Regions from separate parts of the Homo sapiens genome. Here region 1 is linked to region 2. The links are contacts of gene promoters, found by promoter capture Hi-C in blood cells and fetal thymus (Javierre and others, 2016). All regions are on one chromosome and are shown on one strand. Each heading gives the region's core, a stretch centred on a gene start or on the middle of the fragment in contact. The rest is flanking DNA. Distances are from core to core; before and after follow the strand shown.

The links. Contacts are between HindIII fragments. The CHiCAGO score rates a contact against its expected background, and 5 or more counts as called.
Region 1: a contact is called between the fragment with the promoter of PLRG1 here and the fragment with the promoter of CBR4 in region 2, in 1 of 17 cell types (activated CD4 T cells). The highest score is 6.2, in activated CD4 T cells.

What each region holds. Positions count from the first base shown.
Region 1 is chr4:154,548,993-154,554,701 of GRCh38, reverse strand. It overlaps PLRG1 (pleiotropic regulator 1), which reads left to right and starts at 4,302. Exons shown (of 15, transcript NM_002669.4): 1 at 4,302-4,402. The coding sequence starts at 4,394. RefSeq lists enhancers at 2,291-2,585, 3,969-4,128, 4,149-4,198. The HindIII fragment of the contact is 1,608 bases long and covers 4,059-5,666 here.
Region 2 is chr4:169,006,407-169,011,800 of GRCh38, reverse strand. It overlaps CBR4 (carbonyl reductase 4), which reads left to right and starts at 1,546. Exons shown (of 5, transcript NM_032783.5): 1 at 1,546-1,853; 2 at 4,045-4,165; 3 at 4,910-5,046. The coding sequence starts at 1,712. It overlaps CBR4-DT (CBR4 divergent transcript), which reads right to left and starts at 1,372. Exons shown (of 2, transcript NR_185919.1): 1 at 1,345-1,372; 2 at 741-1,017. RefSeq lists enhancers at 1,167-1,496, 1,596-2,545. The HindIII fragment of the contact is 6,180 bases long and covers 868-5,394 here.

The DNA of each region.
Region 1 (5,709 bases), core at 3,053-5,552, about 14 Mb after region 2:
GTAAAATATTCAATCAAATGCCTTACTCTTCTTAATTATTCATGTCAAAAGGTATTTCTGCTAACTAAACTGACTGTTGCAAATATTTCTACAGATAAATTGTATTTTGTAACTAAGTTGCTAAGTTTTATAGAAACTAAATAAAATTTAGAATTAACTTACTTAAATGTAATGGAAAATATTTTTCATTGTCATAAAATTTACAAAGATCAGAAATACAGAACTGAACAGTCCTTTTATAAGCAATTATCTGCATTACACACACAGAAAGACTGTGATTAAATTAATGGTTACTGAAATAGCAACTTTTCGGAGTGAGCACATCACACACACACACACACACACACACACACACACTCACAGACCATCCTTCCTACATGTTCAGTAGCTGCAACTCCAAATCAAAATTAAAGTCTCGGCTGGGCTCAGTGGTTCACACCTGTAATCCCAGCACTTTGAGAGGCTGAGACAGGTGGATCACCTAAGGTCGGGAGTGCGAGACTAGCCTGGCCAACATGGTAAAACCCCATGTCTACTAAAAATACAAGTAATTAGCCAGGCGTGGTGGTGCACACCTGTATTCCCAGCTACTCCGGAGGCTGAGGCAGGAGAATCATTTGAATCCAGGAGGCAGAGATTGCAGTGAGCTGAGATGGTGCCACTGCACTTCAACCTGGCCGGCAGAGCCAGACTCCGTCTCAAAAAAAATTAAGCTCTCAAAGCCACCTAAACCCATATTTAAGTGTACAATATAATAGCTTACTTATTCATTCATTCAATAAATATTGAAAACTTACCAGTTGCAAGTCAATTAGATTCTGACTGTGTGATAGTAAACATCATGCCATATTCACCCCATAAGTCTACTGGGAAATACAGATATTTAAACAAATATTACAACAAAACATTCAGCTAAGAAAGCTGGAACCAAGACATTGTTATTTCTTCTGTGGCAGTATAAACACCAAAAATATTTCTGTAAAATAAAAACATTTGTAAATGCCTGCAAATATTTGTAAGTACAAATTCTTATTTGTAAAGGTAAACAACAAAAGTCATGATTATGTTCAATATTGTCACTTATTTTGTGATATAGTGTTGTGGGTTGAACTGTGTCCCCCCAAATTCACATTATGAATTCCTAACCCCCAGTATCTAAGAATGTGACCTTATTTGGAAATAGGGTATTTTTGGATGGAATTAGTTAAGATGAAGCCATACTGGAGTAGGGTGGGCCTTTAATTCAATATGATTGATGTTCTTTAAGAAGGAGAAATTTGGCATAGGCATATGCACAGTGAGAACGAAATGTGAAGATGAAGGCAGACATGACAGTGATGCAGCAGAAGACAAGAAACGGCAAAGACTGCCAGAGAACTACTGGAAGTTAGGGGAGAGGCATAGAACACATTCTCTCTCACAGCCCTTAGAAGGAACCAACTTTGCCAACGCCTTTATTTCAAGCCTCTTGCCTCCAGAACTGTGAGACAATAAACATTTGTTGTCTAAGCCATCCAGTTTGTGGTACTTTGTTACATCAGCCCTAGCAAACTAATACACATGAGATGGGGCTTCATGTAGTAGAGGATGGTGAAATTGTGATAAGTAAGACCCGAGGACTCTCTCTCTCTCTCTCACACACACACATACACCTTGCTAAGATATTTATAACTGACAGTTTATAACTGATAGTACAATCTAATTATTCCCAAAGTCTTTCCAGGCATTAACAGGAAGAACAGCCCCTTCACTGTTCCTTATAGTCCCAGAAGCTTGTTTCAACTATGCTACAAGAAAGTATCTGCTAACACTACCTTAGTATTTAGGCAAATTCATAGCATTGTGCTAAACAATTAAAGACCAAAGTTTTGGAAGAAATGTCCAAGTATCATTTTTCACAGGTTTTGACCTCAGAAATTCAAATAAACAGTGATAACTCCCATGATTACTTCCTTTTGAATTAACGAACAATTTCAAATATGAAATTTAAGGGATGGACATACTGAGCCACACAACTCTAAAGAACATTGCATATAGTGTTTTTTAAAGCTTGTATATTTAACCCTCTAAGTTGAAACAGAAAAATAAATAGTAATATTTATTATTTTATAAGAATCAGAAAACACTTCCTATAAAAATATCATAAAAAGCTGATGAAAATGGCACTCAAATCTATACTCATATGACCTATCACTGTTCAAGAGCAAAGGACAATATTTGAAGGAGAATAAAAAGAGTTTCTGTATTGGTGAGTTTAAAAAATCTTGCCTAAAGAAGGAGGGCTTTCCTTAAAACTTGTATTCTTGGTTTTACACAGACATAATACTAATAATTTATATTAATAAGTTACTTGCCGTGTCTGCTTTAAGGACAGCCCTGAGGGCCCGTACAAAGAGCAGTGGTGACACCTGCTGTTCAAATAAGGCAGCTTCGGGTGTCAGCCAGGCCATGTGTGTATGACGGAGCCTTTCAGGAATCCAATTAAACTTGTGGATCCTTTCTCCAGAAAATAAAACATATTCCCATATAAATACAAAATTTTCCTACAATATACATAATTCATGAATCCCTGAACTAAATAATAGGGTCACTTGAGTTCTATATTTATCTAAAATATTGTAAACTTTCAAGGGGATGACATCATTCTATAAATTCACGACAGTGTTTTAAAAGGAGCAAATTCGAGGCAATTTACCTCAATCATTACCATGTTGTTATTGAGAAATTAAATTAATGTCTCCAGGATGATTAAATATGTAAAAAGTTAATAGATCCAACTAGACAATTAATATATTGCCATATATATTAGTCTTGCTTAGGTTTCTATGGTTTTATTGTCATTTCAAATCATGTTATTTTCTATAGTTATTATTAATAGGTGAGTATATTATTTAGTTCATCAAGTATATATTTTACAATTATGGTATTTTCTTGCAAGGAAATACCATCACCTGCCACCTTTACAGAAAAGCAATTCTTAGGCCAAACTCACAGTTAAATTCAGAGATGCTGTATCTTCAAGTAAAAACATGACCTTAAGGCAGGGCTCAGTGGCTCATGCCTGTAATCCTAGCACTTTGGGAGGCCGAGGCGGGCGGATCACCTGAGGTCAGGAGTTCAAGACCAGCCTGGCCAACATGGTGAAACGCTGTCTCTACTAAAAATACAAAAATTAGCCGGGCATGGTGGCGGGCGCCTGTAATCCCAGCTACTCCAGAGGCTGAGGCAGGAGAATAGCTTGAACCTGGGATGCTGAGGTTGCAGTGAGCCAAGATCGCGCCATGGCACTCCAGCCTGGGCGACAAGAGCGAAACTCTGTCTCAAACAAAAACCCATGACCTTAATGTTTTTAATGAATTTCCAAGTAAGGTTGATTTATATTGCTATTCTTTTGCTAGATTTTTTCCCCCTCTCAAAGTGTAAGCAGTATGCTCTCAGGACAGGATTAGTGAAACTGAAACAGGGCCAGTAAAATGTTTGTCTATTTAAGTTTGTAAATGCCTAAGTCCATCCATTTTTTTTTTTACATAGAAAAATAATTGGGTAGGGTTGATCACAAACCACAGATTTTACCAGGGTAGAAAGCAAAAATACCAATACTTGGCACAAGGATATGTATAAATAAAAATGGCTAAAGTCTCCAATTGTGTCTTCTACCAGCTTTGAAAAGCTGTACCCTGGCATTGTTGAAGCCACAATAATCAGCAGGCAACTAGGAAATGGACAAGAGCTATGCAGTTTTGAGAAATTAAAAAAAAAAATCTATTAGCAGAAAATAAATATGGGGTTTTGTTATAACTACATGTCAAAATTTTCCAAATTAAAACAGCTATTCCTCAACGTTCACTTAACAAGTGTTTACTGGACTGTTTAAGCGAAATTGTTTTCAGGTGTTAAGCCTACAAGTGTCCAAGTGCTTCTCGCCAGGATTAGAACCAGGAGACACAAAGCACGCAGGCGACCTCCAAAGAGATCAAGGTAGTGGAAATGCCTTAGATAGAGCCCACGGGAGTTTGCTCTCCAGACGCTTAGGTTCTCTGAATAAAAAGCGTTAAGCTTCCGGGGAATACAGCACGAACAACCAGGACCCCAACTAAGGCAGAAAACATAATTCTAAGATTTCTTCAGAGGGACGAGTGAAACCCTCCACCCAGGCCCTTCCAGGAGTCTCCGGCTTTCAGCCTCGAGACTCCGCCCTAGAGGCGGTCCCGAGGAGGGAGACCCGCCTCCTGATCCTAGATGGCCGAGGGAGACTAGCGCGCGTGCGCAGAGCTTGCATCACATCCGCCGCCTGGGCGCCCAATTCCGGAAGGTGCTGCACAGCTGTGGCGGCGGGTACTGCGTTAGTGATTAGAGTTTCTTCCCTGCCGGAGGTGGGATACACGGTAGCATCATGGTCGAGGTAAAGTGACACTGGGGCTCTCAAGAGTCGTTTGTCTCTGGACTGTTTTTTTTGGCAGTGCGCGTGGGGGATTGAGAGTACTTGGAGTCCAGAGAGAAAAGAGGCTACGAGGGGAGCTATTTGGCCAAGGCCGAGTGGTCTCTTCTTCGGGTTTTCGGGGAAGGGGTAGAAGCCGGATGAGAACCCGAGTCGGAGGTTCAGCCTGGGCGCGAAGCCTGAGATAATTCGTCCAGTCCTCGTTTGACTCTTGGGAGCTGGAAAGTGTCCTCGGAGGCGGGGCCTCTGTTGGTGATCGACCACTGGTACTTGCCGCCCTCGGGGCAGTGTCAGTGAGTCTGTGCCCTAAAAGATTGGTAGTCTTCTCTATCTTGCGTTCAGGTCGTCTCTTATTTCACCTCTACCCCCAGAAAAACTTGCCGTTCTTTACATCTTTCCCTGGCATGAACAGCCAACGCTGTTAGCTGGTCTTGTCCATCTTACCCCACATGTTTATTGATTCCATTCACTCTTCTCCATATCCGCTGCAGTCCACCTTAATTGAGACCAACATCATCTTTCACCTGGACTGGTGCATTAGCTCCCCGTTGGTTGGTTTCCTTGCTTCCATTTTGTTCTATAAGTTGTTCTGTTTAAAACGTAAGTTGTTCATACCTTTCTTGTTTAAAACCCTTTACTGACCCTATGTTGCTAGAACAAAATATAGGCTGTTGTAATAGTCTAAAAGACCTTACCTAATCTGGACCTTGTCTACCCTTGCAGCTACAAAGCACCATCTCATCCTCCATACACAGCTGTACTGCGCTCCTTGTATTATTTCAGTTAACTGAACTTTTTTTTACATGACATTTCCATCAGCCTGGTTCGTTCTTACCTCTGTTTTGTGCAAGGCTAACTCCCTTTCTGCTTAAATATCACCTTAGTGAAATCTTTCACAATTATACTTAGTCCTTCATTCCCTGACTCAGCGCCTTGCTTGTTGCCTTCATAGCACTTATCAAAATGTGGAATTATTTTACTTTTTATTTGTCTGTTTCCTCTTGAGCACAGGGACCATGACCACCTTTTTATCATTCTATTGTGAGATTCTAGCACAATACCTGCCAGACACACAGTAGGAGCTCAGTAAATATTTATTGAGTAAGTTAAACTCCGGCATCACTCAGTTGCTAAACCTGAGGTTCTAGCCAAAGAGGAGCTTCCTCCTCTTCTCTGAACTTGACTCCTGTAGCTTGCAACAAGTAGCTATGGTGAGTGGTATAAAGCTTTTTACATATTTAAACACGTGAAGTGTATAATCAATCTGACTT
Region 2 (5,394 bases), core at 297-2,796:
TTAACTTCCTATTGTATTTGCTTTTAATAAAGTCTAATAGATGCTATGAAAACAGCCTTACAATCTCTTTTTCTTTTCATGAAGCTCACTGTCTACTACAATGCTTAGTGTGCCATTTAGGAGGACCTATGAGGAGGGAGTTTTGCTCAGGCTTCTCTGCTGCATAACCAGGAGGCTGATTTCTTACAGAAATTACCACTTGTAATTATATTTCCTTTGTTGCTTTCGCTGGCAGGAAACTCTAAGTTTATGAATCTCTTCTTTAATACTAAATAGATTCTTATAGCATGACTTTATTCGTATTTTTTCCACTGACCTAATTTATTGTTCTGGCCTTGTGGGAGAAGGGGCAGTGGTCCTCTTTGCCTTTTAAATTCAAATACTCATGTATTTTTGCAAACCATTTCAAATCTTTTTTTGGATCTAAATGGAATAGGAATAACAAATTTAAATTAATGCTCAACTTGCTTATTTATAGACTTTTTGCTCTTGTTTTCCTTTTTTCAAACCTCATCCAGCCCTCAAATCCAGCTTTTCCATGCACCCCTTCATTCTTCACTGATCTCCATTTTCTCGGAGCTCTTGTGTTAATATAATTTTGCATTTTACTAAGTATGATTTTGGATACCTCCTAGTGTTTCATGTGTATTAGTCCTGTAGTTCTGGGTTGTAGTTTTTTTAGTGGTAGGGACCATGGCTCATACTTTTCTGAATCTAGTAAAATAATATTGTATCAGAAATGCTTTCTGTTTACACTATAATTGTAACAAACATTGAATTTTTTAGCTTATTAACTCTCAGAGCACCCAGTACATCTTATTTAGAATTGCAGGAACCCATTTTTGTTTCTCTACAGCAGCCGAAGCTTGTTTCATAGATCTTGCAAGACTATTCAATCATTCAGTTAAAATTCCTTGACCTCCTGCTGGATGATGTTCGACAGGGCATTCATCTTCACGACACCCTTCGCGATGAATGGTAACATCTGGGCGGGTAGAGGTCCATTTCTACAGCAACCTGGGGGAGGAACAGGTAGGGTAGGTTTTGGTGTGGGTGCGATTCTTGGGGACTTCTTCAACAGGTAGGACATCAAGTCTGTAGCCAAAACAACACCTGGGCGAAGGGCAAATACCGGAGCCCCGACCGGCTCACGCCCAGTAATGCTTTCTCTGGGTTCTAACTACGTGATCAGGTCGTCTTGGTTTGCCAGGGAAAGCCCAGCGTCTTGACAACCCTGTCAGTTCCGAACAAACCGGGTCGATTGGTCACCGGGGCTCGAATCCCGACTGATATGACCCAGCGGGGACAGAGGATCCCCCTCAGTGCCACAAGTACATTCCCCACCGAGCAGCGCGCCTGCGCCAGTTGCTCTCATGCGTCAAGACTACAGGTCCCAGCAAGCATCGAGGCCCTCTCCAGGCCATTCTTCCGCCGGCGGGGAGCTCTCGTCGGCGTATTTGTTAGGTGTGGCGCGGAAGAGTCCGTGCGTGATGACGTCGACGCGGCGACGTCGAGCTCTTCCTCCTTTTCACGGCGTCTTGCATTACTATTGTGCGGCTGCAGGAGGTGTCGAGCGGCGTTATTTTTTTTTGCGGTTTGCCTTTTTTTTTCTTTTTTTTTTTTTTGGAACCGCGGTTGTTTAAAAGCCTGAGGGAACCTGGAGAGGGGCTCCCACTCCCTACCCTCTTTCCTCCGAGTTTGTGACTCCGAGATGGACAAAGTGTGTGCTGTTTTTGGAGGCTCCCGAGGCATTGGCAGAGCTGTGGCCCAGTTAATGGCCCGGAAAGGCTACCGACTGGCGGTCATTGCCAGAAACCTGGAAGGGGCCAAAGCCGCCGCCGGTGACCTCGGCGGTAGGTACCAAACTGGAGTTGTCCAGTTGTATGGCCGCGGTCCAGGCGCCTAAAGAAAATCTCCTTTGTAAAAAGAGCGGGTCTGGCCTTTAGGGCTCTAGGGTTACTCGATGTAGCCGCGTGCAGGCGCTCTCCCGTTCCAAGGGTAGAATGCGTCTCGTGCAGAAACCCGCGATCTCCCTATGCCTCGCAGAATGCCGGCCACGCAGCTTGCCGCCGAGGGCTGAACACTTGGGGTGTTCTTTGAGACCTCGTAGTCTTTTGAGGCCCCGCTATACGCACCCTCCGCCCTGCGGCTAGTGCTAACGCTGAGGAGCTTCCCTGTTGTGGGAGAGAGCCACGTAACAGTTTACTTTTAATGTAGGGAAAAGGGCGAGTTCTCGGCCCCCGGAGACAGGGCTGGGTCGAAAGGAGTTCAGGCAGGAAAGGTGGGAGTGCAGGTACCAACGGCTCCCTTCAGTTTTGCCCAAGGGCCGTGCCTTGGCCCTGCGCGAATGCACAAAGCAGTGTTTGATAGAGAAACCCTTTTGAGTACCAGCCAGTTTTGAGATATACCTGGTTTGCTTTAATGTTATTAAATTGTTTTGGTGAGTTTTGCAAATGGACAATTGAACTTTGTTCTGCCAAATTCTTTTTTATTGCATTTAAACTTCAGGGTTTTTTATTTCCGGCTTATTATGAATGGATTAGTCATTTTGTGAATATAACTCTTCATTGAGTTTAGGGAGAAATAGGACGTTAGATCCGAAGATGCTATTTGTTTAATCACCAGAATGGACAAAATTATACTTCATTTACTATCAGGGAGGCATGGGGAGAATAGAGGCCTAGGGGTGCGTCTTGTGGCTCTTACTGTTTTTGTGTATCTGGTTTTTTTTTTTTTTTTTTGAGAGGGCTTCCCATTATGTTGCCCGTGCTGGACCCCAACTCCTGATTTACTGGCTCTAGAGATCTTCTCGCCTCAGTCTCCCAAGGACCTGGGACTATAGACGCCAGGTGTGGCTGTTCATTTTTAAGTTAACATTATTGATCGGTTTGGTATCACCTGTTCAGTGCTGGTTGGGAGACTATTGGGCTCTCTAAAAGAAAAAAGATTCTGTAAGTTATAGGTCAGGGAGAGTGTCAGTGAATGCTTCTTGAAGCTCATATTCCTTACCATTCTAACAAAGGAGGGGAAGAGTGGTGACCCTTACTGTGTCACCCCAAGCCATCAGTGTTTGCTGGACTGGATTGAAGCCATTAGTTGGGCTTTCAAAGGTGGTTGTGGACACAAGTCTTCGGGTGAAAACCAAGAGTAAGAGAGACACAGGATGCTTTTGGGCCCTGCATTCCTTTGAATCGTGTTCCATGAGTGATTGGTTTTCATCTAGAAAGTATAATTCCCCGGGTCGCTTACTGTTTCCAAAGGCTTGATGGGGTAGTGTTGGTGTAAGCATATTTATCAAGGTCAGACAGAAAATAAAGAATTGTTTTAGCTTTTAAAAACAATCCTACATTTTAGAGTATTAAAATGGTAGATTACATAGGGAATGCTTTGTTTTCCTTTGAAGTGTAGTTTTTTTTTGGCATTTAACCATTTTTTAAAAGTGGTAAGTAACAGTTGCTTTTAGTAAAAAGTGTTTTTTTCCCCCCGTGGTTTGTAGTTTTAGCATTTTTATAGCTTCCTGTGTTGTCTCATCTCTCCTGATGGTCAGGTTTGAATAATAGTCGTTATAATATATGTGCCATAGTGCATCCGTAGCACTTAAAAAGAAGAAACCCAAGAGTTCCCGTTCAGGGCCAAAGAAACTAATTCAACAAAAACCTGACAGAATTAGACATAAATTTCAAAAAAGGAATATAAAACCCAGAAGACTGTCGAATTGGGTAGCATGAATTCAGTGTTAAAGCTATAAATATTAGATGAATCTTACAGAGCCTTTATAACTTGAAAAAGCCCTCCCCCCTTTGTTGATTAAAAAGAAAATTTTAAAATTAACTTTCTGTAGTAGTACTTTATTTCCTCTTTGTTCCCGCATCCCAGTTTCATTAGACCAACTCTATGAAAGCCAGGCCTCATGACATTACTTTTTTAATCTTTAGGTTCTAGATTAGCACAGGCCTGCCATCTTAGATAGATGCTTAACAAATGTGTATTGAGTAAATTTAAAATTTGAGTTATAAGTAATTCTTATTTAACTTTGTTGTGTAGGAGATCATTTGGCATTTAGCTGTGATGTTGCTAAAGAACATGATGTTCAAAATACATTTGAAGAGCTGGAGAAACATTTAGGTCGAGTAAATTTCTTGGTAAATGCAGCTGGTATTAACAGGTTGGTCACAGATTTAAATAAGTTTCTTATATATATATTTAAAACTTTTATTCCTAATATGTCTTTGATTGGTATAAGTTAATATGTTTATTTTGCTTCTAACTGGGAGAAAAAACTATTTTAAAACTTGTCAATCCATAAATTATTTTCCTTTATATTGAGATACAACATATAATAAATGTCCAGTTGAGTCGATTTTAACATTGTAATCATCACCCATATTGAGCCGTAGAATGTTTCCAGTGCTCCAGAAGGTAGTGTCTTCTCAATACTTCCTTGTTGGTAACTGTTTTCTGAGTTTTGTCACCACAGATAAGTTTTGCCAGTTTGTGAACTTAATACTAATAGAATCATGGAGTGGATATTATTTTTTAAAAGATGAATTTAGGAGAGAATATTTAGATAACATATTAATTTTCTTGCTAAACAAGGCTTAGTATGGCAGTTGCTCAGGCCATTCAAACTATTTTGGCTATATGTTACTACTTTTTAGGGGTTAAGAATATTTGCCACTCAAGCTGAGAAGGGGTAGCAACCTGTCTTCCAAGTGGATCCTTTCTGGTTTATCAATTGTTATTTTAATGTTTCTCAAGCCAAGTTCAAAATGGGACTCTAGGTATTCTAGCTATTCTAGCTCAGATAGGAAGCACTTCTTGCACTCTCAGTAAAAATGTTACATTAGTCTTGACCTTTTTGGTTTTTATCTTGTTATTATATGCTATTATATGCTGTTTCTTTTTGTAGGGATGGTCTTTTAGTAAGAACAAAAACTGAAGATATGGTATCTCAGCTTCATACTAACCTCTTGGGTTCCATGCTGACCTGTAAAGCTGCCATGAGGACTATGATTCAACAACAGGGAGGGTCTATTGTTAATGTAGGTGAGTCTTCACCTTTGTGAATTTATGATTATCCCATAATACCATACCATAAAAATATTTAATCCACGAATTTGTGATTTATTGTGAAACATGAATGAAATTTATATTATCTGTGGAAAAAAGGATTTAATTAATTGATTAATGAGTAAAATAAGAATCACACATTCACATCCCTATAGGAGTCAGGCAGGTGTTAAATGAGTGACACCACTGAGTACTAGAAAAATGACAGTACCAGCCATGTGATAAATGATATCCAGCTTCATTGTCCAGAGCCCATATGGAATGGTGGAGGCCACCACTTAGATTCAGTAGATTGTTGCCGTGCAAGAATGTGGTCCCAGTTTT